Regions from separate parts of the Homo sapiens genome. Here regions 2, 3 and 4 are each linked to region 1. Evidence: promoter capture Hi-C in 16 types of primary human blood cells and fetal thymus (Javierre and others, 2016). All regions are on one chromosome and are shown on one strand. Each heading gives the region's core, a stretch centred on a gene start or on the middle of the fragment in contact. The rest is flanking DNA. Distances are from core to core; before and after follow the strand shown.

Region 1 (7,416 bases), core at 2,656-5,155:
TTTGAACCCAGGCTGGGAGGTGGAGGTTTCAATGAGCTGAGATCCCGCCACTGTACTCCAGCCTGGGTGATAGAGCAAGACTCCATTTGAAAAAAAAAAAAAAAAAATCTAACAGTACATCATAAAAACTTTCATTTTAAAAGTGTTAGGAAGGTTCAACAGCAGAAAAATCTATTAATACAATTTATCATTTAGTAGGTTGGAGGAAAAAAGTGATTAACTTTTAGATGCAGAGAAACATTTGTTAAAGGTCAATACTGACTTATGAGTAAGAAAAATTCATAAAGCTAGGGGCATAAGGAACAGGCTTAATGTGATAAACACTATATTCCAAAAACCCACAGAAAATTTACTTGTAGGGGAATTCTGGATTAATTTCCATTCCTGTAGAAGGCTCTGGCTACAATGCAAGATAAGAAAAAGGCACAGGAAGTGTCAGGCTTAGAAGAGAAAAGATAAAGCTATTACTACTTATGGACAATATAATCCCCTAGATAGAAAAACCTACAGAATAAATAAAACAATAAAAATATAAGAGGTCAGCAAGGCTTTTGAATATCAGAAGAAGTCAACAGCTTTCCTTCCATCTGTACCTGCAATTCCAACTAGAAAATATAATAGAAGATTAGGTAGCATTTACTATGGCAATGAAAACTATAAATTCTCTGGGAATCATGTTAATAAATCATGCTCAATACATTGATAGGACTTTAAAATTCTCTTATGGGATATATAGTAAAATCTGAATAAATGGAAAGATACACTAAATTTATGATTGGGAAGTCTAAAATATCAACTCTCTTTAAATTAACAAATTCATTTTAACTCCAATCCAATTTCCAGCCTTATTTTTTTTTTTTAGATGGAGTCTTGCTCTGTCCCCCAGGCTGGAGTGCAGTGGCATGATCTCCACTCACTGCAAGCTCTGCCTCCCGGGTTCACGTCATTCTCCTACCTCAGCCTCCCGAGTAGCTGGGACTACAGGCCCTCACCACCACGCCCGGCTAATTTCTTGTATTTTTAGTAGAGATGGGATTTCACCGTGTTAGCCAGGATGGTCTCGATCTCCTGACCTTGTGATTCGCCCACCTCAGCCTCTCAAAGTGCTGGGATTACAGGCGTGAGCCACTGCGCCCGCCCTGATTTTTTTTTTTTTTTTAAGAGACAGGGTCTTTGTTGCCCAGGCTGGAGTGCAGTGGCACAATTATAACTCATTGCAGTCTCAAACTCCTGGGCACAAGTGATCCTCCCACCTCAGCCTCCCAAGTAGCTGGGACTACAGGTGTGTGCCACCATGCCTGGCTAATTTTCTAATTTTATTTTTGTAGAGACAGGATCTTGATATGCTGCCCAGGCTGGTCTTGAATTCCTAGGCTCAAGCGATTTCCCACCTCAGCCTCTTAAAGTGCTAGGGAGCCACCGTGCTCGGCCAGACGAATTTTTTAAAGGAACTCAACACACTCTAAAATTCATTTGGAAGAATATAGGTCTGTCAGATAAAACAGCATTTTACAAAGATGTTGTATTTACAATATTATGTTATTGGTGTAAAACAGATGTACAGATACAGCATAGGGAGTTCAGCAGTGAATCCTCATTTTTGGGAATTTGATCATTTAGTAGATGAGTTGGGGAAACTGAGTCATATGGAGAGAAGCGAAGCTGAATCTCTGCCTTACATACACAGGCATACATAAAGATAGCCTCCAGAGATGGGTTAAAATCTTAAATGTGAAAGGTAAAACTATAAAGCTATTAGAAAAAAACAAAGTAGAATATGTCTGAGGTAGGAGCAAGGTCTTAAGACTTTCCAAACACAAACTATAAAACAAAATATTGATGAATTTGAAAATATTCCTGTTCAGTGAAGGACCTACAAAGTTAACAGATGACAGTTTGGGAGAAATATTCACAATGCATAAATCTGACAAAGGGCTAATGTCAAGAATTAAGTAATGTCTCTTCAAGTCAAAGAGGATTAAAAAAACCCAGAAAAGCAAATTTAAAAATGGATAAAAGGTAAGAACAGGGAATTCAAAGAAGTCAAAATGGGGCTGGGCACAGTGGCTTACACTTGTAATGCCAGCACTTTGGGAGGCCGAGGTGGGTAGATCACTTGAGGTCAGGGGTTCGAGACCGCCTGGCCAACATGATGAAACCCCATCGCCACTAAATATACAAAAATTAGCCGGGCATGGTGGCATGCACCTGTAATCTCAGCTACTCAGGAGGCTGAGGCAGGAGAATTGCTTGAACCTGGGAGGTGGACGTTGCAGTGAGCCAAGATCATGCCACTGCACTGCAGCCTGGGTGACACAGTGAGACTCTGTCTCCAAGAAAAAAAGTCAAAATGGTTAACAAAAGTATAAGATGCTCAAACTTCCCACTCACCAGATAAAGTCAAGCTAAAACAAGTAGTTATCACTCAACTACACATCAAACTGGCAAAAAAAAAAAAGTAGAAAAATAGTGTCATAGATCAAATTGTGCCCTCTCCTCCCCCAGTGCGACTGTCTTTGGAGATAGGGCCTTTAAAGAGCTAATTAAGGTTAAACGAGGTCATTAGGGTATGGCCCTAAACTGATGGGATTGGTGTCCTTATAAGAAGAAACAGATCTCTTTCTCTGCATGCACAGAGAAAAGGCTGTATGGAGACATCGAGAAGGTGTCCGTCTGCAAGCCAGCAAGACAGGCCTCACCAGAAACCAACCCTATTTGCATCTTGATCTTGGACTTCCAGCCTCCAGAACTGTGAGAAAATGAATGTGTGTTGTTTAATTCCCAGTCTGTGGTGTCTTGTGAGGACAGCCCTAGCTGACTGATACAGCTCAGTACTCGGCAGTGCTGGGGAACATGGGGAGACAGGTATGCTCATTTCTTACTGGAGCACGTGTAGACCACACAGCCATTCTAGAGAGGATTCTGGCAGTTTTGGTTAAATTGAGTTCACCTCTACCCCAGGACCCAACCACTCTCCTTCTGGGTTTATCCCAGGGAAATTCTCCCACAGGCTGTAACAGGGACACTTGCAAGGAGGTTCATCTCAGTGTAGTTTATAATCATGGAGAGTTAGAGACAACCTGCATGTCCATCCAGAGGGGAGCAGCCAAATAAACTGAGGTGGATGAATCTTATGGCTCTTTCTGCACCAGCTGAAGCAACATAGATGTCAACAGCATAGTGCTGAGTGAAACCCAACACTATACAATTTATGTAAATTAAAGTACAATACAATTTATGTAAATTAAAGTACTGTACATACAAGGACACAGGCATATTTAAGTACATCCATTAAACACGCTGCAATGCCTGCCAAGGCAGTAGGGATATGGGGTGAGAATAAGTCATAAAGGGGGAAAATAAGAAAATAAAACAAAAGGGGGACCTTGCAGTGATTTGTGCCAATGAGGATGTGCTAGAAATTGGCATATGATCAACACAACCTCAATTTTCTGTACTTGAGGTCTAAGAAAAAGAGAAGAGGGAAAGTGACTAACCTGAAGTCACCCAGCGGGTTAGCAGTGGAGCCCAGATGGCACCTTCCCACCTCCCCAGCCCCGTAGGCAGCAGGCAGAGCCCGGGGCTTAGCTTACTTCTTGCCAGGGTGGATTTGTTGTCTCTGTGGGCTTGGGCCAGGCCAGGCCAAGGCTGCTTGTGTGGTGCCAAGGGCAAGGCCAGCAACCCGAGGAAGATGAGGAGCCTCCAGAGTGGACACATCATAGGGTCTGGGACCTGCAGATGTCAAGAGTGTCAGATGGGGCCTGGGCAGACGGCTTTGAGGGTGGCAGTCTGGAGGGATGGTCTAATGGTTTTCTGCAGAAAGATGACATCAGAATTAGCCCCCAGCATGCTGTGGGGAGGGGCTGCACTGGACCCTGGCGCTGCCACCAGGGCTTGCTCACATTGGGAGAGCAACATGTGGAACCCTGGGAGGAGGCCAGGGCTCCAGAGGGAGGCCTTGTTGCTTGGAGACACTCACCAGAGTCTATTGTTGGGTCATCCAACAGGAGTCCTCTCCCAGACCCTGGCACAGGCTGGATGTTAGTGACTCTTTAGTGAACCAATGAATGAATACATTTGAGTGAGGATGGCTAACCCCAGGCTCTCCAATTGGGTTAGGACTTTCTTAAGGGCATGACCAACCACTTCAATCCCTACCACGATACTTGCTTGTCAGAAATTGAGTGTTAATGAATGTTTGTTGAGTGACCAAACGACTGAATTGATGAGTGGAGATGGTTGATCTCTGAATCTCCTCTGAATTATGAGTTTCTTGAGGGCAGGGTATGAGTCTAATTAATCCTCATGTCTACAGTGCCTCCCATGTTTGCCACATGGTAAGTACTGGTGAATGTTTGTTAATGCTACAAATGAATGAATAACTGGATGGATGGATCTTATCTTTCTGGATAAGAATTACAGACTCTTGAAGCCAAAGCATCAGGTTGACCTTGGAGCCCTGGGGTTGGGATTCAGAGAGAATTCAGTTTAAGTCCCCTGTCCTCACTCTTAGGAAATGGTGCCAAGTCCATCTAGTTGTTCTACTCCCAGCCGGTGGAGCTGCCCTTTCCTCCCCTTTTCCCATCTCCCACAACCCATCTGTCAGGAGATCCTGCTGACACTTCCAGAACATGACCACATATAACAACTACTCCTCAGCCACCATCAGCTTGATCTGAATTATTGCCAGTGGGTCCCGGCTGGTTTCCCAGCTTTTAACTGTGCCCACCCACAATCTCTTCCACACAGCAGCCTGAACAGTCATTTTAAGATGTAAGGTAGGCCGGGTGCGGTGGCTCATGCCTGTAATCCCAGCACTTTGGGAGGCCGAAGCAGGCGTATCATGAGGTCAGGAGTTCAAGACCAGCCTGGCCAACATGGTGAAACCCCGTCTCTACTAAAAATACAAAAAATTAGCTGGGTGTGGTGGCACATGCCTGTAGTCCCAGCTACTTGTGAGGCTGAGGCAGCAGAATCACTTGAACCCAGGAGGCAGAGGTTGCAGTGAGCTGAGATCACACTACACTGCACTCTAGCCTGGCAACAGAGCAAGACTCCAACTCAAAAAAAAAAAAAAAAAAAGATGTAAGGTAGACCACCATGCCACTCCTCTGCTCAAAACCCTCCAGCATTTCCTACTGCACACAGAGCAAAAGCCACATTCCATGCAACACCTCCCAGGCCCAGGAGGGTCCCTGCATCCTCTTGGACCGCACTGCCTGCAGCTCTCTCTTCCCCACTCCACTGCAGCAGCACAGGTCTCGGATGTCTGGGCCCCACCTTGCCATTGCTGTGAGCTCTGAGACAAAGGCGTTTGTCACTGTCCCTGTGCTGTTTCCCCATACTACGGGCGACATAGAGGGTCCCATGTGGATGAGGGATGGGAACGTCCTTTGCAAATTTCACAGAAGCCTTGGGGCTATTCTTGGGCAATTCACTCTGGTTTTGTAAGAGATTGTACTGAGAAAGCCTTGGTTCAGGGTGTTGGCTTTCCCTGTTTGAGGTCCTTTCTCAGAGTTCATGCTCCCCTTGGGGATGTTTGTAGAATATCACTTACTTCAAAATGTATTTTTCTAGCCTTCCTGGTCTTATGTAAGTGGTTGGAATTTTGTTATTTATTGTCAAGAAAACAGAGAAGAGTGGGCATTGTCGGGAGGAACAAATCTGTTGTCCTTGGCTCTTTGGACATCTTAACATGGGGCAGGAGCTGTTGGTCCTACCTCATCACAGGCTGTGGTTCTCAGGGCCACAGAGCCTAATGAAAGGACAGCATGGAGGGTATAGATTTTCAGAGCTTGATGCATGACAAGAGAGAGCAGATTTGGAGGGATGAGAGGGCCCTGCTCAGGGGCTGGGGACTGGATTTGAAGCCAACTCGGTGCAGGATCACATGCAGTCCAGAGTATGTGCTTTAGGGTCACGCAGACCGGGGTTCAACTGCTGACTCTGTCTCTTGGCAGACTCAGCTCCCAGGTCTGTAAAAGGATCACAGTGCAGACCTCAGAGCTATAGTGAGGATTAAAGCGAATCATGCTTGGGCCAGTCCTCCAAAACCATGTTATTATGATGATCCTCCTCCTTGTCCTTACGCCTCTGAGCCTTCCTCACCTGTAAACCAGGGAAGCTGATGGAGTCAGTGACATGGAGCATGAGAATCCCAAGATGGTTCCTGGGACACGTGTGCAATGAATGCAGGAGCCACCTCTATCAAGTACTTTCACGAATGAAATGCAACTCCAGAAGGCAGGCAGGAATGATAGAGAGGCTGAGATGGCAGTGAGGGTGTGATGGTCCTGGAGTGAGCTTGCGCGTGGCTGTTCAGATGGTGGGCTTTGCTGTCATTCATTCAATGAATAAAACCACTAAAATCAATGAACACTGAGTGTCAGGAGCCGTGGGCTCTGGGGATCCCACAGAGAGTGGTCAGGCAGGGTCCTTGTCCTCATGGAGCTCACATACCAGTGGGGAGACACACAGTCTTCAATTATCCCTGCAACTGAGCATATGATTATGAAATATGGCCCAGAGGTGAAGGAGGTGGGAGGTACTGTGAGAGGGCACAGGGAGGGGATACCTGGCCAATGGGGGAAAAGGGATGTCAGGAAAAAGACCTCCCTGAGGAGGTGGAGTTTCTTTAGCTGACATTCAAGGAAAAAACCCAGGGTGGCTGGGCACGCCACGCTGGTGCTCTCAGGAAGGATGGTGGTGGATTGAGGACAGCTCCTTAATGAGCAAATACTTGGAGGCTGGCGGGGCTGGCGTTTCTCCGTTGGGACCCGTTCCCTGTGTGAAGCCTGCTCTGTGGTCTATCTCATTCCGTCCTCATCCCACAAAGGTGAGGAGACAGGGACCCAGAGAAACCCAGCGGCTGCCTAAGCTCCCAGCCAGGAAGAGGCTGAGCTGGCATCCCAGTGGGCTGTCTTGCCTTCCCCAGAACTGCCTCAGACACTGTTTTCCTTGGACACTGGCGCTGTGGAACACCACTGAGCCTCACACATTAGCAGCCTCCTTCACTATTCCAAATAGCTTTCCTTAAAACAAGCTTCTTTACCTTCTTGGGGGACATTTTGAAAATGCACTGGAAGCTTTGGTTTGTCTTTTAGGAAAAAAAAAACTCACCAAGCCAAACAATGTTGCACACAGTACCAGGATTGCCATGGACCTCTTAAGGCATGCCCATGGGTTCAATGGTAAAACCCTTGCTCTCCTGGGAAACTGGCTTTCAAGGAGTTTGACTTTGAAAAAAATTCATTTATCCATCCACCCAACCATTATTTACTGTGGGCCAACTGTGTGCCAGGCACTGTGCTTGACTCTAGGGAATAACAGTCACCCTATTCCCCAGCAGCTTATCATCTGGTGAGGGAATCAGAACAAGGTGAAATAAACAAGAAACCAAATAACCATAAATTGTAT
Region 2 (7,416 bases), core at 2,446-4,945, 330 kb after region 1:
CAACACACCCTGCCCCAGTCCACACACAGAAAGGTAAGGTGGATGGCTATGGAAGCCACAGCCTCAGGATGGTGATCGTGACTCCCCCTTGGTGCACCAAGGAGAGCCATGGGACCCCACAGACCCTAGTTCCACCCAGGCCTCTTCTTCCCCAAAGGATGAGCCCTGATGCAACTGTGAATCACTCTGCAGTTACACAGGCTCAGAAAGCCCTTCATCTGGGGGCTGTGTTCTCAATCAACCTTTCTGTAGAGCCCTGGAGAGCAGTGCTTTCCTCGTCTGCTGGAGGATTCTGGACGGCCCTGGCGACCAAGTACACAGTGGGTTCTCCTGAGCATCTTCTCACTTACTACTCTCAGCCAAGAGCTGGCAGCACAAAGACAATATATCCAGCAGGGACTTGCTGCGTGCCCTGCCCTGCCCCAAGCACTACACATGTATTATGTCATCATGTGTTCCCAAAAGGACTGTAAAGAAGCACTGTAACTAGCCCCATTTGACAGATGGGAAAACTGAGGCACAGGGAGTATATAGTACCTTGTCCAGGTCACAGAGCTTGCAGGTGGTACAGTTAGGACTCTGACCCTGGGATTTGGGCTCCAGAGCCCATGCTCATAACCACTATGATTTCCTGCCTGGACTAGGCAAAAGGCCTGAATCGGTAGGACGTGGGGACAGCGTGGGAGTGGCTGACCCCTAGCACAGGAGTCTTGGGGATGACAATGCCATTCACTGAGATGGGGACGCAAGAGAAGGAAACCTGGTGGGCAGGGACAGCTAAAGGGACACCTGTTTGGGCTAATGGATTTGAGGGGCCTGTGAGACACCCACAGGGAATGGACATCCAGGTGGAATCCTGCTTAGCAGAAGGGAAATGTGTGGCTCCCACAGTGAAGCCAAGTCAGGACCCAGGTGCTGTGACTGCAAGTCCAGGCTGCTTAGACCATGAATCTGCCTGGCTCCAGGTCACCTTCACCATGGGGGTGCTAAGGCAGAGGCTCTCCAATCACCCATGTGTGCACCATGTGTAGGGGCCCCACTCACCCTAAAGGAGCTCATCAGCGAGAAGGACTCAGACCAGAACTGCAGGATCCCGTCTTTGGTGACAGTCAGGAAACACCCGATCTTCTTGAACCGGTGGATTAAAAACACCACCTTCACCACCTCACAGCCATGGTTCCTGTGGGAGGCGATGAAAGAGAGAAGAGCCCAAGCAAAAACAGCTCAGGGAGGGGGCACCTGCGGCAGAACAGAGAGCCACCGAGGAGGAGGGACAAAAGCCGGCGGAGCGTCACGCACACGCACGCACATGCGCACGCCATAAACCCATAGCTGGCTCTTCCAAGCGGGTTTCTACTGGATCATCAACAGTGGCCAAAAGAAAAAGGGCCCCACGTAGAAGCTGATATGAGGCGGGGCTCCAGAAGTGAGAAGCAGCAGGCTTATCCTGCGAAGTAGCCAGCCAGCCTCCTCGCGACGTGATGGGACAGAGGAGACAGAACGGAGGTTGTTCGCAAAGCTTCTATCATAGGAAAAACTGCCCAGGAGAGGGTGAGCAGAGTGGAGCCTGAGGCTGAAAACTGAGAAACAGCACTTTCTAGCAACTGCTCTAGTGCTCTGGGGTAGAGGGGGGAACAGAACCGAAGGATGAAATCAAAGTGGACAAGGAGCAGTGGGGAATTAGGGTCCCACACACCAAACCTACAGCCAACAGCTCCGGGGGCAGGCCTGGCCTCGCAGGAGGCCGCCCTTGAGCATTCATACAGGCTTTGATGCTCCCCTCTGTGGGTTGCTTCCCTGCACCCAAGTGGGCTAAGCCAGCTATCTGGCCATTGAGAGTCCCTGCCACTCCAGCTTCCCAACATGGCATGGCATGGCACACACTCTCCTACTTGATCTGCCCAATCTTTGAGCCCTGGCAGAGCAGGTGATATTACCTCATCCTACAGGGGCCCAGGGAATAATCATTTGCCTGGAGTTATGTCCTATTTACTAGCAGGGCTGGAACTAGAACCTAGGCACTGTGACCCCTCCTCCAGGGCCCTTTCCAAATCCGGTAGGCCTGGTCTGACCCTGGGCTTAAGGATAACCCAAGCCACTGTGAAAATTCAACTGCCATTACCATCTCTGCAGAAGAGCAAGGGAAACGTGTCTGGACACGGTTCTCCTCTCTCCTATCCTCAGCCCATGGCTCTGGGTAGATTGTGATGAATATTCTCAGTTGCCCTCTCATCTCTTCCAACCCTGCCACTTCTGTCAGGGCCAAAGACTGTGCAGAATGGGATGATAGGTGACAGCTAGGAAAAGGGAAGACAGCCCTAAGGACAGGCCATCTCAGGGAGGACTTGGTTTCCTCACCTGCATGATGACAGCACCTGCACCTCCTAGGGCTGTGATGGGATCAGATGAGAGGCTGCATTTGGTGCACCCGGCCCAGGCTCAGTAAAGGTAAGCCAATGTTTTAAGTTACTCTTTCATGAAGGTAATTAAATATTACTCATTTATTTTCCCCACCAAGTTGGAAATGCTCTCCGGGTTTGTAGGTTGAACAAATAAATAGGAGAATATAGGAACAAGCCTCTTGACATTCTGTTTCAGGACCTTTAAACACCCTTGAGATCTAAATGGCCCAAAGAAATAGAAAGACCTGACCGGGCAGAGTGGCTCACGCCTGTAATCCCAGCACTTTGGAAGGCTGAGGTGAGTGGATCACTTGAGGTCAGGAGGATTACTTGAGGTCAGGAGGCGGGCAGACCACTTGAGGTCAGGAGTTCAAGACCAGCCCGGCCAACGTGGTGAAACCCCATCTCTACTAAAAATACAAAAATTAGCCAGGTGTGGTAGCACACGCCTGTAGTCCCAGCTACTCAGGAGGCTGAGGCAGGAGAATCGCTTGAACCCGGGAGACAGAGGTTGCACTGAGCCAAGATTGCGCCACTGCACTCCAGCCTGGGTGACAGAGTGAGACTCCGTCTCCAAAAAAAAAAAGAAATAGACCAGTGAAGGCTTGACCTTATTAAGCAATGTGTTCATGCCAAAATGTACAGTTATGTATTTGAACATACTTCATGTTCAAATGGTTGCTTTTATCTGATTGTATCATGGGAATGAACACTATATCTAATTAGGGAATGTCTCCCCTTCCTACTGCTATAAAACAGAGGTATGTAAATCGCCATTCAAGCTATATGAACTGGACATGCTACATGGGAACCAGTAAGATTGCCCAGGCCCACACAGTGCAGAGTAGAAGCTAGAGAGCTGGCAGGGACAAATTCTCCACTGGATAGCCCTCTGTGGAGCATTTCCTGGGGCTTACGACAAAAGCCTGTAAGCGCCTCCCGGCAACAGCTACTGGGACTTTGGACTAGGGAATGTCCTCTTGAGGGGCATTTACTACCTTGTTATGGGACATTAACTGAAGCTACCCCTACGACTGAAGGATATAAAATTATCTTGAAACCTGAAATACCCAGATGTCTTGGGTGATATCAGAGAAATGCTCTAATGGGGCCTACAGAGGCCAGAAATTCCATAATAAAATGGAAATGGTTGGCCAGGCGCAATGACTCACACCTGTAATACCAGCACTTTGGGAGGCCAAGGCAGGTGGATCACCTGAGATCAGGAGTTCAAGATCAGCCTGGCCAATACGGTGAAATCCCGTCTCTATTAAAAATACAAAAACTAGGCCAGGCGCGGTGGCTTACGCTTGTAATCCCAGCACTTTGGGAGGCCGAGGCGGGCAGATCATGAGGTCAGGAGATTGAGACTATCCTGGCTAACATGGTGAAACCCCGTCTCTACTAAAAATGCAAAAAAATCGCTGGGCATGGTGGTGGGCGCCTGTAGTCCCAGCTACTCGGGAGGCTGAGGCAGGAGAACGGCATGAACCCGGGAGGCAGAGCTTGCAGTGAGCCGAGATTGCACCACTGCACTCCAGCCTGGGCGACCGAGCAAGGCTCTGTCTCAAAACAACAACAACAACAACAAAAAATCGGCCAGGCGTGGTGGCGGCCACCTGTAATCCCAGTTACTCGGGAGGCTGAGGCAAAAGAATCACTTGAACCCAGGAAGTGGAGGTTGCAGTGACCTGAGATGATGCCACTGCATTCTAGCCTGGGCCACAGAGCAAGACCTTGTCTCAAAAATAAAATCCCAAAAAATAAATACAATAAAATGGAAATGGTTTACTCAGCATCTTGCTACCTGGGGAATGCAAGCAAGAGATACTCACAGGCTATGAGCCTCTTTACCCCAGGACTGATTCCGGAACTGTGTGAGGTGCTGCTGGGTTCTGTCGACACTTGGACAGTGTGCCGTGAACAGCTATCAAGTGACCAACGAGGAAATGCTGGGTTTACAGTTTCAAAGTGAATGGACGATATTCTGTTTGGAGGGCTGCCACTTGCAGCAAAGAAGGTAGAAACTGATCAGCCTCAGTGGGCTGAATTGCATTTGCATGCTGTTTTTTTTTTTCTTTTTGAGACGGAGTTTTCATTCTTGTTGCCCAGGCTGGACAGCAATGGCGCAATCTCGGCTCACTGCAACCTCTGCCTCCTGGGTTCAAGCAATTCTCCTGTCTCAGCCTCCCGAGTAGCTGGGATTACAGGTGCCTGCCACCACATCCAGCTAATTTTTGTATTTTTAGTAGAGACAGGGTTTCACCATGTTGGCCAGGACTCCTGACCTCAGGTAAGCCACCCACCTTGGCCTCCCAAAGTGCTGGGATTACAGGTGTGAGCCACCATGCCTGGGCAGGGATAATTTCTAAGCAAGAAACAGTCACCATGTTTTAAAACGTTGTCAGAATTCCCTAAGGGCCTGATGGGGGTGGATTGCGCCTTCATCCCATCTGGCAAAATGGGGGTTAAAAATAAATACAGCTATATTGTCTCATGGTAAAAATGGCTCGCGAGTTTGGAACTCGTGTAACCCTATTCTCTATGAATGAGAATGGACTGAGGGGAGGCACTCGCTACAGTAGCTTTGCTACCAATGATCCAGATAGGCACAGTGGCTGAACCCGATGTCCCTTGCAAAGGAGGAAAAGTTTGGGTAAAAATAAATGACAAATGGAGAAAAGGAGGAATACTAGCTGAGGGTAAAGATTAATAAATGGATTAAATGGAGAGAAATCCAGTATTACACCAACAACTCGAAGGAGTTCTCAGAGCAAGAGATGACTGGCTGGATGCGGTGGCTCACGCCTGTAATCCCAACACTTTGGGAGGCCGAAGTGGATGGATCACTTGAGGTCAGGAGTTCGAGACCAGCCTGGTCAACATGGTGAAACTCCATCTCTACTAAAAACATAGAAATTAGCTAGGCATGGTAGCAGGTGCCTGTAATCCCAGCTACTTGGGAGGCTGAGGCAGAAGAATCACTTGAACCCGGGAGGCAGAGGTTGCAGTGAGCTAAGACCGCACCACTGCATTCCATCCTGGGCAACAAGAGCAAAACTCCATCTCAAAAAAGAAAAAAAGAAAAGAGAGATGACATTGTCTCTTAGCTCAATGATTCCAGATGCCTGAGAGGTTTATTTGCCAAGCCAACTCCGGCTTTTGGAACCTGACAAGATTGAAAGGAAGCCTACAAACCTGAATGGCCTCAGCCTGGGAGACATTCATATACTATGATGGATGGGATGAATTATTAATGACTAAATGGGACTCTAGGAATGTGCCAGTATCTTTTGAGTTGTGTATTCTTTTGCTATAAGGGAGCTGTGTTCTCTATGTTCAAAAACCAGGAGTGGGGGCCTGTGGTGTTTTATATATATATATGTTTTGCCCACAGTTCCTAACTCCCACAGCCCCAGAGTCCTGCCCTATGCCCTAGGGGCAGGAATGCTGATGTCATGAAGCTTCCACTAAAAACCCCAGAGGACTGGGTTCTGAGAGCTTCCCTATGGCTGAACACACGGAGGTTCCTGAAGCTTGTGCATCCCTCTCCCCATACCTCGCCCTACACATCTGTTCATCTGTATCCTTTGTAATATTCTTTATAATAAACCAGTAAATGTTTAAAAAATACAGTTATGAAATCTCTTATCATTCATATTTATTGGTTATTTCTCAATTAAATCCCAACCAAAATTTTGTTTTAAGTTATTGCCGGGTACAGTGGCTCACACCTATAATCCTAGCAGTTTGGGAGGCCAAGGTGAGCGGATTACTTGAGGCCCCAAGTTCACAAACAGCCCAGCCAACACAGTGAAACCCCATCTCTATTAAAAATACAAAAAAATTAGTCAGGCATGGTGGCAGGCGTTCGTAATCCCAGCTACTTGGGACGCTGAGGCGGGAGAATCGCTTGAACCCGGGGGGCGGAGGTTGCAGTGAGCCAAGATCAAGCCATTGCACTCCAACCTGGGCAACTGAGTGAGACTCTGTCTCAAAAAAAAAAAAAAGTTACCCTTGGGTGACTTTCATTCAAGCCGCCTTCTCTATTAAACCCCAGGCTGCCTGAGGACCGGGGCTGCCTTCCAGCTCTTTGACTTCCCCGTGGCCTGGTCTGGGTCTGGTCCTCTTAGGACAGACCCACCCACAGCTCCCTCCTGACCTGGTCACAAATGTAGGCTGCCACACCTTGTATCTCAGGACCCAGCTCCCTGCCTGGCCACCTGCCCCAGGCAGCAGTGCTCCAGGGTGGACTGCAGGAAGGGATCCAGTGACCCGGGCAGCCCAGGCCCAGCAGGTCAGAGCCCCTGCAATGCTCCTCATGCTTAGGGAGTCCAGGGGGAGGAACACACAGCGAGGCAGATCAACCCCTGGCACAGACAGAAGAGGTTGAGGGGTCTGAGAGATGCTACCCCCAAATAGGGCACCGCAGCATACTGAGTCTGTTAAACTAAAGGAATTTGAGAAGCAGTATGTTCAGGAAGGACTGTCTGACCTTCCCCTGAAGCCGGTCATAAGACTCATGTGAGGGGTGCCCAAAGACACAGGGACACGGACAAGAATCTGAACTAACGTCCTTGCTATTTCCGCCATGTATTACGCTTGGCTCATCGCCCCTCTGTCCTATCTTATTTTTCCACAGCTTTCCACCCTCCATTGAACCTAGCATGAAAACCCTCAGGTTATCTGTTTCTTAGGGGCTTCATTTCCTACAGAGGCTCCCGTGTCATGTAAAACTTATATTAAATAAACTTGTATGCTTGTCCTTGTGACTCTGTCTTCGCTTAGAGAGGTCCCTGCCAATGAACCTCAGATGGGTAGAGGGAAAAGACAGTTTTCCTCCCCTGCAAAGCAAGGGTTCAGTGGGCACAGCGGGTGGAGGAGCCACGAGGAGGAGGAGTGAGCAGAGCGGTCAGGCAGAAGCCAAGGCAGGGTGGTGCCACCAGCTCCAGGAGTAACAGAGGGACCTACTCCCGGGGCCAGCCACTCTGAGGCCTCCAGGGCCTGGCTGGGG
Region 3 (7,416 bases), core at 2,457-4,956, 290 kb after region 1:
ACACCATGGAATACTATGCAGCCATAAAAAATGATGAGTTCATGTCCTTTGTAGGGACATGGATGAAATTGGAAATCATCATTCTCAGTAAACTATCGCAAGAACAAAAAACCAAACACCGCATATTCTCACTCATAGGTGGGAATTGAACAATGAGAACACATGGACACAGGAAGGGGAACATCACACTCTGGGGACTGTTGTGGGGTCGGGGGAGGGGGGAGGGATAGCATTGGGAGATATACCTAATGCTAAATGACGAGTTAGTGGGTGCAGCGCACCAGCATGGCACATGTATACATATGTAACTAACCTGCACATTGTGCACATGTACCCTAAAACTTAAAGTATAATAAAAAAAAAAAGAATGAAGTGGATAGATTATTATGTGCTGAGAGGAAAAACTGTCCACCACAAATTGCAAGGTTTGAAAAAAAAAAAAAAGCAAACAGCTAAATAAACAATAGTTTCAAACGTTCTCAGTTTTGTTTGAAAAATCAAAACCATAAAAAAAAATTTAACGTGCACACAACTTTCACAGTAGTCATTAACTGTCATTTTAAAGGATGTGCTTTAAATTTTGTCATAAGCACATTCCAATGATTAAGTATTTTTCTAAAATGTGGTTCCTCATAACTGCACAGGATTCACCAAAGTGATGCACCACAAAGTTCTCCCATGTCTGAACTGGGGAAAAGCTGAGGCATCCTTCCCAGCCATTCCTTTGCCAGCCCTGGGACGGTGAGAGCAGGTAGGGTGAAGGTGAATGAGCGCCCAGGACTTCAGCAGGACTGGAGAGGGGCGGCCTGCTGAGAGCACAGGGTCAACTGCGTAGCCAGCATCCGGTGCTCACAGTGAGAAAAGCACAGTCAGAATGGTGGCCCTAGGCAGGACAGAGCCGTGTGGCTGCGAGGGACAGGTAACCAACACTATTCCTTTTGCACTCTGCATCCAGCCCCATCCAATACATTGCCCTGCTCATTTTGGAAAGAGCTGCTGGACTGAAGGTGAGCATTTCAGTCTCACTCAGCCCAGGAATCCCAGATAGTATCTCAACCACAGCGGGTTAATGGCCTCCCTGTGGGTCCCTTCAGAAGGAGCCATGGCAAGCTACTCACGGGCTAAACTTCATGTAACTTGGAGCAATTTTCTACTGCGTGCCATCTGGTCCTTCCCTACTGGGGAGATGGCCAGGGGCAAGTGCTTCATCTAAAGACTGTCAGGGGCTGGGCGCCGTGGCTCACGCCTGTAATCCCAACACTTTGGGAGGCTGAGGCAGGAGGATCACTTGAGGCCAGGAGTTCGAGACAAGCCTGGACAACATGGCAAAACCCCGTCTCCACTAAAAACCCAAAATTAGCTAGGCGTGGTGGCTTACGCCTGTAATGCCAGCACTTTGGAAAGCTGAGGCAAGAGGATCACTTAAGGTCAGGAGTTCAAGACCAGCCTGGACAACATGGTGAAACCCTGTCTCCATTAAAAACACAAAATTAGCCAGGTGTGGTGGCACACACCTGTAATCCCAGCTACTCAGGAGGTTGAGGCACGAGAATCACTTGAACCCAGGAGACAGAGGTGGCAGTGAGCTGAGATCACGCCACTGCACTCCAGCCTGGACAACAGAGTGAGACTCCATCTCAAAAATAAATAAATAAGTAAAATTAAAAATAAAGACTGTCAGGGACACAGCTGGGCCTGGATCTGCATCCTGGACTCCTTCCTAGTGCTCTTTCTGCCATGCCTCACAGTCTTCTGGGATGGCCAGACAGAAATAATGGGAAGGAAGACCCAACAGGTAAGACCCCCACCCACTCCCTGTCTGGTGTCCTTACCCCAGCCCACCCAAGCCTCTCTTCCACTAAGGAAAGGCTGAGATCAGAGATGACCCAAGCACTCTGGACCCTCTCCAGGGCACCACCCTAAAATGCTTCACTGTGCCCACAAGTGCCCCAGAGAGAAGGGACCCTGCTCCTCAAGGAGTGGTGCGGGTGGGAGACAGTACATCTTGAAGCCAGGGGTGAGGGTCAGCATCCAGAGGGGACACACACACACACACAGCCCTGCCAGCCACAGTGCCTCAAATCTCACCAATAGACATTCAATCTTTTGCATGCAATTCTGTGGCCAAAAATTCAATCAAGATTCATGATACAAATCCTTATTACACACAGATCACCAGGCCACGTAAAAAGCCCAAGGAATTCCCAACAGTGGCAGCACAAAAACTTAAAAGAACTTGAACTTTGAAAACAAATAGACCTAGAATCAGGCCCTGGCTCTGCCATTTTCTGGCCATAAGAATCTTGGGCAAGTCACTTCACCTCATTGGGCCTGTTTCTTCAGCCATAAAATGGGAATAATAATAATAGTACATTCTTTTCAGATGTATTAAACATTCTTTTCACATACATTCTTTTCAGATGTATTAAATAAATAAAAATCCCTCATAAATAAATAATAATAGTACATACTTCCCAGGGCTGTTTGATGGACAAAATAAAAACAACACATGTAGCTGGGCATGGTGGCTTATGCCTGTAATCCCAGCACTTTGGGAGGCCAAGGCAGGAGGATCGCTTGAGCCCAGAAGGTCAAGACTAGCCTGGGCAACATAAGGAGACTCCATCTCTATAAATATATATTTTTTTAATGAGCCAGGCACAGTAGCACACACCTGTGGTCCCAGCTATTAATACTCAGAAGGCTGAGGTGGGAGAATCGCTTGAGCCTGGGAAGTGGAGGCTACAATGAGCTGTGATTGTGCCACTGCACTCCAGCCTGGACAAGAGAGCTGAGATTCTGTCTCAAAAAACAAAAAATAACACATGTAAACCATTAAGTTCATTGTCTGGCAGATATTGAGAGCTCAATAATTACTAGCTACCACTGAAACATAATGCAAGATAGCAAAAGCTTTCCAGGAGTATGTTTCTAATCCTAGAGTTTTATATCTGGAAATAGACAAGAGATCCAAAATTTATGTACAAGGGTATTCATTGCAATGCTTTCTATAGAGGCAAAACCCAGCGGCAGCAGATAGCTATACAGACTCTGTGCAGTGTACCCAGGACATGATGTGACTAGTAAAAGGAATGCCATGGCTCCGTAAACACCGTCATGAAGAGATGCCCGTGAGGAGTCAAGTGAAAAACAGCAAGTCCCGGAATAATACATGCAATATGATATTATCCAGTGAAAAATATCTAGATTTATATATATACATTCATACATGTATGTACTTGTATATGCACAAAAAAATTCTAGAAGGCTACAACACATGTCTTAACGTAATTACCTCTGGAGGCTGAGGAGGGAGACAGCCATTCTTTTACTTTATACACTCGTATAAAGTTTCATTTTTTTTCATAGGTGGTGGTGGTGGTGTTGTTTTGGAGGCGAATCTCACTGTGTCACCCAGGCTGGAGTGCAGTGGCACGATCTCAGCTCACTGCAACCTCCGCCTCCCGGGTTCAATCAATTCTCCTGCCTCTGCCTCCCGACTAGCTGGGACTACAGGAGTATGCTGCCACCCCTGGCTAATTTTTTGTATTTTAGTAGAGACGGGGTTTCACCGTGTTGCCCAGGCTGGTTTCGAACTCCTGAGCTCAGGCAATCTGCCCACCTCAGCCTCCCAAAGTGCTAGGATTACAGGTGTGAGCCATCGCACTGGGCCAGGTTTGTTTGTTTGTTTAAGAGACAAGGTCTAGCTGTGTTGCCCAGGCTGGAGTGCAGTGGCACAATCACAGCTCACTGCATCCTTGACCTCCCAGACTCAAGTGATTCTCCCAACTCAGCCTCCCAAGGAGCTGGGTGCACCGTGCACACTATCAAACCTGGCTAATTTTTTTAATTTTTTGTAGAGATGAGGTCTCATCATGTTGCCCAAGCTGGTCTAGAACTCCTGGGCTCAAGCAGTCCTCCCACTTTGGCCTCCTAAAGGACTGGGATTACAGATGTGAGCCACTGCTCTTGGCCTGAATTTTTTTAGTTTTAATTAAGGACATGTATCACTTTCTAATTAGAGGAAGAAAGTATCAGAGAGAGATACAGAGAGAGAGAGAGAAGTACTCATTCTCGAACATTCCATGCCAGCTCTCCCATGTGGGCCCTTGCACCTACCTTCTCTGCCTGCATCACCCTCCTTCCAAATAACTGCAGGCCATGTTTCCTCGCTTCCTTCAGGCTCTATGCAGATGCCACCTCCTCTGTGAAGCCCTCCCTGACCAGCCTATTCATAAAACAGCAATGCCATCTCCTCCCATGTCTGTTCTCCCTGCCATCTTCCCGGCTTTCTTGTCCTCCATTGTCCTCACTCACTCTGTGACATGCCCTTTATTTTATTTGCTGGTTAATTGTCTATCTTGCCCCAACTAGAATGACAGCTCCAGAGGTCAGGGGCTTGATATCTTTCATTCACTGCTCCTTCCCCAGCGGCTGGCATGTAGCGAATGCCTGTGTCCTGACAGCACTAGGTCACTAGCCCAAAAGATCAAGCTTTGAGCCATCTACCTTGACTTCACAGATTTAAAGAGATGGGATCTGTTGGCAATTCTGTTTCCAAGAATCCGTCCTCTCAATATACTCACACTAGTGCCCAGAAATGTACGTGCAAGAATGTTCAATGCAGTGCTGCTCCTAAAAGCTAAAAACTGGAACTAACCCACAGACCTATTCATAGAGGACCAGCTTCACAGTTCCTGATGCATCCAAGTTATGCAGCAGTGGGCAGTTGTTAAAAAGAATAAGATGGCCAGGTGTGGTGGCTAATGCCTGTAATCCCAGCACTTTGGGAAGCCGAGGCCAGTGGATCACCTGAGGTCAGGAGTTCAAGACCAGCCTGGCCAACATGGTGAAACCCCGACTCTACTAGAAATAAAAAAGCAGCTGGGCATGGTGGCACATGCTTATGGTCCCAGCTACTCTGGAGGCTGAGGCAGGAGAATCACTTGAACTCAGGACGCAGAGGTGCAGTGAGCTGATATCGCAACACTGCACGCCAGCCTGGGTGACAGAGCAAGACTCCGTCTCAAAAAAAAAAAAAAAAAGAATAAGGTAACAAAAGAATAAGATGAATCTAAATCCCTCTCATGAAAGTATATCCATGCTATAGACTTACAGAAAAAAGCATATGGCAGGACATAGCTATCATTTTATATTACTAGTCAAAAAAAAAAAAGTACAAGGCTAAAACCAACCTGTTAGCAGCGAATGCTGCTGTTGAGAGTGGGATGGGATAGGGTGAGTGAGATATAGGGGACTTTTATTTTTATTTTTTCATTTACATACACTTCCTTTTTTATTATAAACTAGTATTATTACTTTTAAAAGTTATCTAAGGTATTTTTTTAAAGAGAAGGAAGAGGCTGGGTATAATGGTTCACATCTGTAATCCCAACACTTTGGGAGGCTGAGCCAGGAGGATCACTTGAGCCCAGGAGTTCGAGACCAGCATGGGCAGCATAGTGAGACCCCATCTCTACAAAAACACACACACACACACACACACACACACACAAAATAGCTGGGCATAATGGAGCATGCCTATAGCCCCAGCTACTCACAAGGCTGAGGTGGGAGGGTCCCTTCAGCCCAGGAGTTGAGGCTGTAATGAGCTGTGATCACACCACTGTACTCTAGCCTGGGTGACAGTGAGACCCTGTCTCAAGAAAAAAAAAGGAGAGAGAAATAATCAGAACCTGGAGGAGAGTGTGCAGCCACTCCTGCTCTCCCTCCCAACACTGCAAAACCCAGCTCTCAGGGCACTGCCCTCTTGTTCTCAAGTCCTGGTCCCTGGACCTGGGTGATGGGGCAGGCCAGCCACACCCTAACTCAACTATGATTTGTATTTTCAGGACGGGGAGTCAGTATCACAGTGAGGGGTGTCCAGGGTCAGAAAGGGGAAGGTACAGTAGGAAGAACAAAGATGAACCCATACCCAACTCGTGTTCGGTATAAAACACCCTTCCAGTTAACAGGAGGGCATTCTAACTAGAGTCTGGAGATGCCCCTTCTCCTACCTCCCTACCTCCCCTCCCAGAGGGGACACTGTTACCCCCAATCCAGAGGGGACACTGCTCACTTCCCTAGGCACCCCAACTCCACCTCCTTGGGAGCTGATATGGTTTGGCTGTGTCCCCACTCAAATCTCAACTTGAATGGTATCTCCCAGAATTCCCCCGTGTTGTGGGAGGGACCAAGAGGGAGGTAACTGAATCATGGGGGCTGGTCCTTCCCATGCCATTCTCATGATAGTGAACAAGTCTCAGCGAGATCTGATGGGTTTATCAGGGGTTTCCGCTTTTGCTGCTTCTCATTTTCTCTTGCTGCTGCCATGTAAGAAGCACCTTTAGCCTCCCGCCATGATTGTGAGGTCTTCCCCAGCCATATGGAACTATAAGTCCAGTTAAACCTCTTTTTCTTCTCAGTCTCGGATATGCCTTTATCAGCTGCATGAAAACGAATTAATACAGGAGCTCTCCCCAGACACCGCAGCCCTGACTCCAGTATCCTGAGCGTCTCCATCCTCTCCAAGATGCCTTCCGGGCACTGGGGAGAATCAGGCCGGGCCCCGAGCCCAGGCCCCCGAGCCCCATCCTGACCACCCAATCCTGACCGCCCACTCCCCAGCTCATATCCCTCTCCCTGGCTGATCACGGCCAACCTTCTCCACCGAGGCACTGGATTGAACCAACATATTCTTCTGCCATTCTCCTTTTCTCGTTTCATCCTCTTTGTAAATGGACTGTTTGCTGTGGATCTTGCTTGACTGCCTGGATGTGCCAGAAGCACTGGAAGGTTTCTGGAAAGAAAGATGGGCACCCAAGTCACCATGAGGGTGTTTCCCTTCCCCATAGGGGACCAGAGACCAGAGGAAGATGATAAAAGAGCGGCACTCCCAAGCCCCCGCAGTAGGTACACTGGCCTGGGAAAAGCAGCGCTCAGTGGATCCCGGAAACCTCCACTTTAAGCTCCCAGCAATTTTGCTAGAGCAAAATTGGGGCAGAGACTTGAGTTTGCCTCTGGGGAAGATGCTTCCTTTGTCCTGGAAGAGACCATCCTGGTTAAAAATGAGGATAAAGGTCGGTCGTGGTGGTTCACACCTGTAATTCCAGCACTTTGGGAGGCTGAGGCGGGCAGATAATTTCAGGCCAGGAGTCTGAGACCAGCCTGGCCAACATGGTGAAACCCCGTCTCCAATAAAAATACAAAAAATTTAGCCAGGCATAGTTGTGCACACCTGTAATCCCAGCTACTAGGGAAGCTGAGGCAGGAGAATTGCTTGAACCCAGGAGACAGAGGTTGCACTGAGCGAAGACCACGCCACTGCACTCTAGCCTGGGTGACAGAGTGAGACTCCATCTCAAAAAATAAAAATAAAAATAAGGATAGAGGGGCAAATATACCTATGCACCCATT
Region 4 (7,416 bases), core at 3,266-5,765, 270 kb after region 1:
GGAGGGGGAGGTCTCTTGGGTAACTGCTAAACTTCACCCTCATACAATGGGCTCCAGTAAAACAGTGGGTCTTAAGAAGCACATTCCTTTCCCTTCAGGTGCACTAAGATAGGGAAGCTAAAAGCAACCCGGGGGATTTGCCTGCAGCTGCAGAAAGATGTATGGGAACAGACACACAACTCTCCCTCCCAGATAAGCACAACAAAGAGACACAGAAGCAGTCCAAGCCTCTGATAAATTCTCCCACCCTGAATCCTTAAAAACTCTTAGTCTGTAAGAGAGTGTGGCTCTAACCTAACTCAGCCAGCCGCCCCTCTCAGGTTTATTTAAAATAAACCTGTCCCTGTTGACTGTTGAGCTGTCCTTCGTGTTTCCTCTTTAATTCTTACAGTGAAGTCTCTTCAAATTTGGTGAAGTGTCTATTCAAACCTCTTTCTAATGTTTTTATTGTATTACTTGTTTCCTTGTTGAGTTCTGAGAGTTTATATATTCTAAATAGGAGCTTTATCAGATATAGGATTTGCAAATATCTTCTCCCAGTCTGTGGTTTATCTTTGTTCTCTTAACAGTGTCTTTTGAAGAGCAGAAGTTTTTAAGTTTGATAAACTGTTATTAACTTGATATTTTATGAATCATGCTCTATCGGTGTTGCATGCAAACAATCTTTGCCTAAACCAAGGTCACAAAGGTTTTCTCCTACGATTTCTTCTGGAAGTTTTAGTTTTAACTTTTGCCTTTAGTTCTATGTTCCATTTTTGTTGTTGTTGTTGTTGTTTTGTTGTTTTGTTTGTTTTTGAGACAGAGTCTTGCTCTGTTGCCCAGGCTGCAGTGCAGTGGTGCGATCTTGGCTCACTGCAGCCTCCGCCTCCCAGGTTCAAGCGATTCTTGTGCCTCAGCCTCCCGAGTAGCTGGGATTGCAGGCAGGCACCGCCATGCCTGGCTAATTTTTTGTATGTTTAGCAGAGATGGGGTTTTGCCATGTTGGCCAGGCTGGTCTCGAACTTCTGGCCTCAAGTGATCTTCCCACCTCATCCTCCCAAAGTGCTTGGATTACGGGTGTGAACCATCATGCATGGCCCATTTTGAATTGCTTTTTGTATGTGGTGTGAGGTGTGGATCCAAGTTCATTGCTTTAAGACTGTCTTTTCTCCACTGAATTGCCTTTGCACTTTTGTCAGAAACAGATGTCCATATATGTATGGATATATCTCTGGACTTTCTGTGCCATTCCATTGATCTGTCTGTCTGTCTCTATGCCATTACCACACTGTCTTGATTACCATGGCTTCACAATAAGTCTTGAAATCAGGCAATGTTAGCCCTTCATCTTAGTTTCCTTTGCCAAAGCTATTTTGACTGGCCTAAATAAATTTTAGAATCAGTGTGTCAATTTCTACAAAAATTCTTCTGGGATATTGATTGGTATTTCAGTTAACCTATAAATCAATTTGGAGATAATTTTATTCTTAATCAGAGAGTCTTCTACCCATTAACAGTAAATCTTCTATACTTTGTCTCAGCAATGTTTTGTAGTATTTTTCTGTGTACTTACATATCTTGGTATTTATGTTTTATGTTTTCGTAAATGTATCTTTTACTTCAATTTCTGGCTGTTCATTGCTAGTATATAGAAATACAATTGATTTTTTGTATTGATCTTGTATCCTGCAACCTTGTTAAACTCCTTACTAACTCTTTTTAGTAAAATCCACTGGATTTTCTACATAGACAATTAGTCAACTACAAATAAAAACAGTTTTATTTCTTCCTTTCCAATCTGAATGCCTTTTTTTTTCCTTCTGTAATTGCCCTCTACTCTTCTAGTATAATTTTGAATCGAAGTGACATGTCTTATTCCTGGTCAGGGGAAAGTACTCAGCCTTTCACCATTAGGTGTGAAGCTAGTTTTAGGTTTTTTCACAGATGCACTTCCTCAGGTTGAGAAAGTTTTTTCTATTTTGCTAAATGTTTTTTATCAGAAATGGATGTTGAATTTTGTCAAATGATTTTATTGTATCAAGATAATCACATAGTTTTTCACTTTATTAATATAATAAATTACACTGATTTTCAAATATTAAACCAACCTTGTATATCTGGGGTAAACCCTATGTGATCATTGCTGGATTTTATTTGCAAAATTTTGTTAAGATATTTTGTATTTATGCTTATGAGGGATATTAATTGATAGTTTGCTTTCTTTTCCTTTCTTTTCTTTCTTTCTTTCTTTCTTTCTTTCTTTCTTTCTTTCTTTCTTTCTTTCTTTCTTTTTCACTTTCTTCTTATAACGTCTTTGTCAGATTTTGGTACCAAGTTGCCTCATGAGTTGGGAAGTATTGTACCCTTTTCAACTTTCTGGAAGAGTTTCTGTAGAATTTATATTATTTCCCCTTCAAATATTTGGGTAAAATTCACCATGGAAGCCATTTAGGCCTGGAGGTATCTTTGTAAGGAGAGTTTTAAACTACAAATTTAATTTCTTTGATATAAGGATATTCGGGTTATCTGTTTCTTCTTGTGTAAGATTTAGTAGTTTGTTTCTTTCAAGGAGTTTATTTCATATAAGTTGCCAAATTTATTGTATAAAGTTGTTTATAGTATTTCATTGTTATCCTTTTAATATCTGTAGAATCAGAAATGATGTCATCTCACTCATTCCTGATATTGGTAATTGGTGTATTCTCTCTCTTTTTCCTGCCCAGTCTAGCTGGAGGTTTATCGATTTAACTATCTTTTCAAAGAACCAGCTTTTGGGTTCATTGATTTTCCTTATTATTTTTTACTTCCCTGTTTCATCGATTTCCATTCTAATCTTTATTATTTCTCTTCTATTTACTTTGGGCTCAATTTGCTCTTTCTTTCTAGTTTCTTTTTTCTTTTTTTTTTTTTTTAATTGAGATGGGGTCTTGTTATGTTGCCTAGGCTGGTCTTGAACCCCTGGGTTCAAATGATCCTCCCACCTGCCTCCCAAAGGCGTGAGCCACCGCACCAGACCTCTTTCTAGTTTCTTAATGTGGAAGTTGAGGCTGGAGATTTGAACTTTTTTCCTTCTAATATAGGCATTTAGTGCTACAAATTTCCCCGTTACTACTGTTTTTTGTGGCATCTCATAAATTTTGAAATGTTACATTTTCATTTTCATTCAGTTCAAAATATTTTCTAATTTCCCTCTGGATTTCTTTTTTTGGCCCATGGGTTATTTAGAAATGTGTCATTTAGCTTCCAAATATTTAGGGATATTTCAAAGATATTTCTGTTTTTGATTTATAATTCAGTTTCATTGGGATCAGAGAACATACTTTGTATGGCATAAATCCTTTTGAGATTAGTGAGATGTGTTTTGTTACCAGAATATGGTCGGTTTAATTAATGTTCTGTGTGCACTTAAAAATAATGTTTGTTTATGAATGATCTATAAATGTTAATTAAGTAAAATTGTTTGATAGTGTTATTCAAGTATTCTATATCATTAATGATTTTCTGTATAGTTGTTTTATAAATTGAGAGAATATTGAAATCTCATGCTACAATCATAGATTATTAAAATTTAAAATAATAACAGATCAAACACCAAATGTTGATGAAGACACAAAGGTAGAAATGCAAAACAGTTTGGTCATTTTTCATAAAGTTTCAATACACTTACCATACAACCCAGCCATTCTGCTTCTAAATACTTACCCAACAGAAATGAAAACAATGTTTAAAGCGGCTTCATTCATAATCATCCAAAACTGACAATGACTCAAATGTCCTATAATTGGTGAATGGATTAACAAACTATGACAGAGCCATACAGTGGAATAATACTCAGCAATAAAAAGAACAAACTACTGATACGTTCAACAACAAAGATGAATCTCAAATTGATTATGCTAAGTGAAAGTTAGACTTTCACTCAGCTACATGTGTATGTTTCCATTTATGATAATCTGGAAAAGGCAAAACTATAGAGACAAACAGATCAATGGCTGCCAGGGGTTAGGAGAAGGAAATAGAGTTTACTATGAGGAGACATGAGGTCACTTTTTGGGGTAATGTCTATGTCTTGATTGTGATACCAATTACACAATTGTATGCATTCATGAAACCTCACAGAACTATATACTTTTAAAAGGTGCTTTTATTGGATGTAAATTATACTTCAGAAATCTGATTTTTAAAACAAGCTTCTAAAAGATAACACTAGATATTATATTTAGGGGATAGTCAAAGACGTCTTTGAAAGATACAAAAAAATGGGTGACATCAGCAAGATGGTAGAATAGGAAGATCCAGAACTTCCTTCTCCCTATGGAGACACTGACTGAACAACAGTACATGGACCAGAAACCAGGACCATTCATCCCAGATGAATGAAAAAACAAACAAACAAAAACCAAAAAAACAAAAAACAAAAAACCAGCTGCACTGAAGCCAGTAGGAAAATTCATAGTGCTCACTTGTAATCCCTCCTCCTGGCTCAGTGAAGCAGATTGGGAAGGAACCACCAGCTTCCAGCTTCTCCCTGGGAGGGAAAGACTGAGATGTACATCCAACATGCAGACTTTTCAGAGGGCTGCATGATTAACCAGTTTCTGTCTTGCCTGAATCTAAGCACTGACAGGAAGAGGCACCAGACTGGGCTACTAAGAACAAAGGTGACAATTTAGACTAGCACACACTATCAGAGTCCCTCCTGCCGCTCTGTGGAATGAGTAGAGAAAACAACCCAACTTCCAGCTTCTCCTTGAGGAGGCAGATTTGGAGCATACATATCCAATGTTAGCCTTTGAGGGGTACCCAAGAAACTGGTTTCTGTCTTGCCTCTCTCAGACTATTGAAGGACCCAGCATATTCTAGAGGCCTGGGGGAAGCTTGTAGCCGCTCTAGAGAACTTGCAGTACTGCAAATAGACACCAGAGAGAGCAAGAGATAATGGACTCCTGAAAAAAATAAACCTGTAGATTCCTGTAATTGCGAATTTACATGCGTAAGTCTGGTGAAAGTATCCACAAAAAAGATTGGGGAGGCACCCAGAATCTTTAGCCAAGCTGATTGGTGCAGAATTTTCCCTGAATGAAGCCAGTATATAAAGACTGGGAGAGGTGGCTGATTTTACAAATGCATGGATCCCAATATAAAGTTATAAGGCACACAAAAAAAATAGGAAAGCATGGCCCAAAGGAACAAAATAAATCTCCAGAAACTGCCGCTAAAGAAATTGAGGTATATTAATTATTTGACAAAGAATTCTAAGTAACCGTAATAAAAATGCTCAACAAGCTCAGGGAAACAATACATGAACAAACTGAGAATATTAGTGAAGACACAGAAAATATAGAAAAGAACCAAACAGAGGCCAGCCATGGTGGCCCACACCTATAATCCCAACACTTTGGGAAGCTTAGGTGGGCGATCACTTGAGCTCAAGAATTCAAGGCCAGCCTGGGCAACATGGTGAAACTCTGTCTCTACAAAAAATACAAAAAATTAGCCAGGCATGATGGCATGCACCTGTAGTCCCAGCTACTCAGGAGGCTGTGGGAAGATCACTTGAGGCTGGGAGGTCAAGGCTTCAGTGAGCTGAATTCGTGCCACTGCACTCAACCCTGGGTGGCAGAGCAAGACCCTGTCTCAAAAAATAATAATAATAATAATAAAAATAACAGAAATTCTAGAGCTGAAGATGAAGAGTAAAATAATTGAATTCAAAAGTCATCTACAGCAGGCTTGATCAAGCAGAAGGAAAAATCAGCAGACTTGAAGATATCCAGTCAGAGAAGCAAAAAAGAAAAAAGAATTTTAAAGAGTAAAGAAAACTTAAGGGATTTATGAGACATCGTCAAATGGACAATATATGCATTATGGTAGTACTAGAAGGAGGAGAGAGAGACAGAGAGAGAGAAAGGGACAAAAAGCTTATCTGAATAAATAATGGCTGAAAATGTTTCAAATCTTAAAAAGGAAAAGAAACCTATATTCAAGAAGCTCAAGGGATTCCAACTAGGATAAAGTCAAAGAAATCCACAAGGAGACACATTATAAAAAGAACAAAAACTCTCATCCAAAAATACTATATCCAGGAAAGCTGTCCTTTAAAAATGAAGGAAAAATAAAAATTTTCCCAGATAAATAAAAACAAGAGGAGTTCATCACCATTAGACCTGCCTTTAAAGAAATGCTAAAGGGACCCCTTCAAGTTGAAACAAAAGGATGCTAGGCAGGAACATGAAAGCATATGAAAATACAAAGCTTTCTGATAAATGTAAACACATAGAAAAATACAGAATGCTGTAATACTGTAATAGTGGCACATAAGTCACTTTATTTTTATTATTATTTTTTTTTTAGACAGAGTCTCACTCTGTTGCCCAGGCTGGAGTGCAGTGACATGATCTCAGCTCACTGCAACCTCTGCCTCCCAGGTTCAAACGATTCTCCTGCCTCAGCCTCTCAAGTAGCTGGGATTACAGGCATGCACCACCATGCCTGGCTAATTTTTGTATTTTTAGTAGAGACAGGTCACTAAAACAAACAAACAAACACATAGGAAGACAGCACAGGAGGAAAAGGGGACAAAAAAGTGTTGGGATTACAGTAGTGAGCCACCGCGCCTGGCCCTAATTATTTCTTGACATGAACGGTGGCTATATGGGTATGTATTTACTTTCTCAAAATTCACCAAGCTGAACCCTTCTGGTTTGTATGTTTTTCTTTATATACAATGCAACAATTAAGTTTATTTTTTAAAAGAGAAAGGAATATGCTTTATCAGATATATGATTTGCAAAAATATACATAGGTGAATAATATTGGGTGGATGGGTGAATGGATGGACCGTTTGCTGAATGGATAATTGGACAGACTGTAATATTATTTAAGTGAAGGCAGTTGCTGTGGCCTGAGAGTCCCTCCCCACAGAGTACAAAGTTCATACCAGCTTATGTTCAGACAGGGACAGAGACAAGAAGGGCCATGGGCATGGCTGAGCTTCAGCAGGACCCATACCAATGGCATCACCGGAGAGTTTCCAAGCCTTGACGTCCCGGTCCTGGCCAGCGCTGATAACCAGCTGGAAGTTGTCCACATACAGGATGTCTGCCACACTATTCAAATGGCCTTTCCAGGTCATCAGGAGCGTGGGGGGAACCAGGGAAATGGTATGGCCAGCCACAACCTATAGGGGACAGTACAGGAGAAACACTTTTACCAAGACCACTACACAGGCTAATTAGAAGGCACCCAGGACTGCAGGCAGCAGAGCCCAGTTGGAAGGGCCCTGGGACACAGGCTAGCGTTCTAGTTCTAGATGCATTCCACATGAACTTGCTTGCGACCTTACATAGGTCCCGGCACTTCTCTGGCCCTCACTGGCCCCTTAGGTAAAACCATAAAAAGAACTTGCATTTACTTTCTCAAAATTCACCAAGCTGA

Evidence for each region. Contacts are between HindIII fragments. The CHiCAGO score rates a contact against its expected background, and 5 or more counts as called.
Region 2: a fragment that was not itself captured here is called in contact with the fragment with the promoter of BPIFA3 in region 1 in 1 of 17 cell types (naive B cells); the score reaches 5.4 in naive B cells.
Region 3: a contact is called between a fragment that was not itself captured here and the fragment with the promoter of BPIFA3 in region 1, in 3 of 17 cell types (M1 macrophages, M0 macrophages and naive B cells). The highest score is 7.3, in M1 macrophages.
Region 4: a contact is called between a fragment that was not itself captured here and the fragment with the promoter of BPIFA3 in region 1, in 2 of 17 cell types (M1 macrophages and M2 macrophages). The highest score is 6.6, in M1 macrophages.

What each region holds. Positions count from the first base shown.
Region 1 is chr20:33,213,841-33,221,256 of GRCh38, reverse strand. It overlaps BPIFA3 (BPI fold containing family A member 3), which reads right to left and starts at 3,905. Exons shown (of 7, transcript NM_178466.5): 1 at 3,594-3,905. The coding sequence starts at 3,720. The HindIII fragment of the contact is 14,014 bases long and covers 1-7,044 here.
Region 2 is chr20:32,879,269-32,886,684 of GRCh38, reverse strand. It overlaps EFCAB8 (EF-hand calcium binding domain 8), which reads right to left. Exons shown (of 27, transcript NM_001143967.2): 6 at 1,045-1,180. Among named protein-coding and RNA genes, the nearest start is that of EFCAB8, 24 kb to the right of the region's middle. RefSeq lists a silencer at 6,551-6,728. The HindIII fragment of the contact is 4,347 bases long and covers 1,522-5,868 here.
Region 3 is chr20:32,919,461-32,926,876 of GRCh38, reverse strand. It overlaps EFCAB8 (EF-hand calcium binding domain 8), which reads right to left. Exons shown (of 27, transcript NM_001143967.2): 20 at 6,662-6,799. Among named protein-coding and RNA genes, the nearest start is that of EFCAB8, 64 kb to the right of the region's middle. The HindIII fragment of the contact is 1,581 bases long and covers 2,916-4,496 here.
Region 4 is chr20:32,943,379-32,950,794 of GRCh38, reverse strand. It overlaps EFCAB8 (EF-hand calcium binding domain 8), which reads right to left. Exons shown (of 27, transcript NM_001143967.2): 23 at 6,991-7,159. Among named protein-coding and RNA genes, the nearest start is that of SUN5, 57 kb to the left of the region's middle. RefSeq lists an enhancer at 1-554. The HindIII fragment of the contact is 687 bases long and covers 4,172-4,858 here.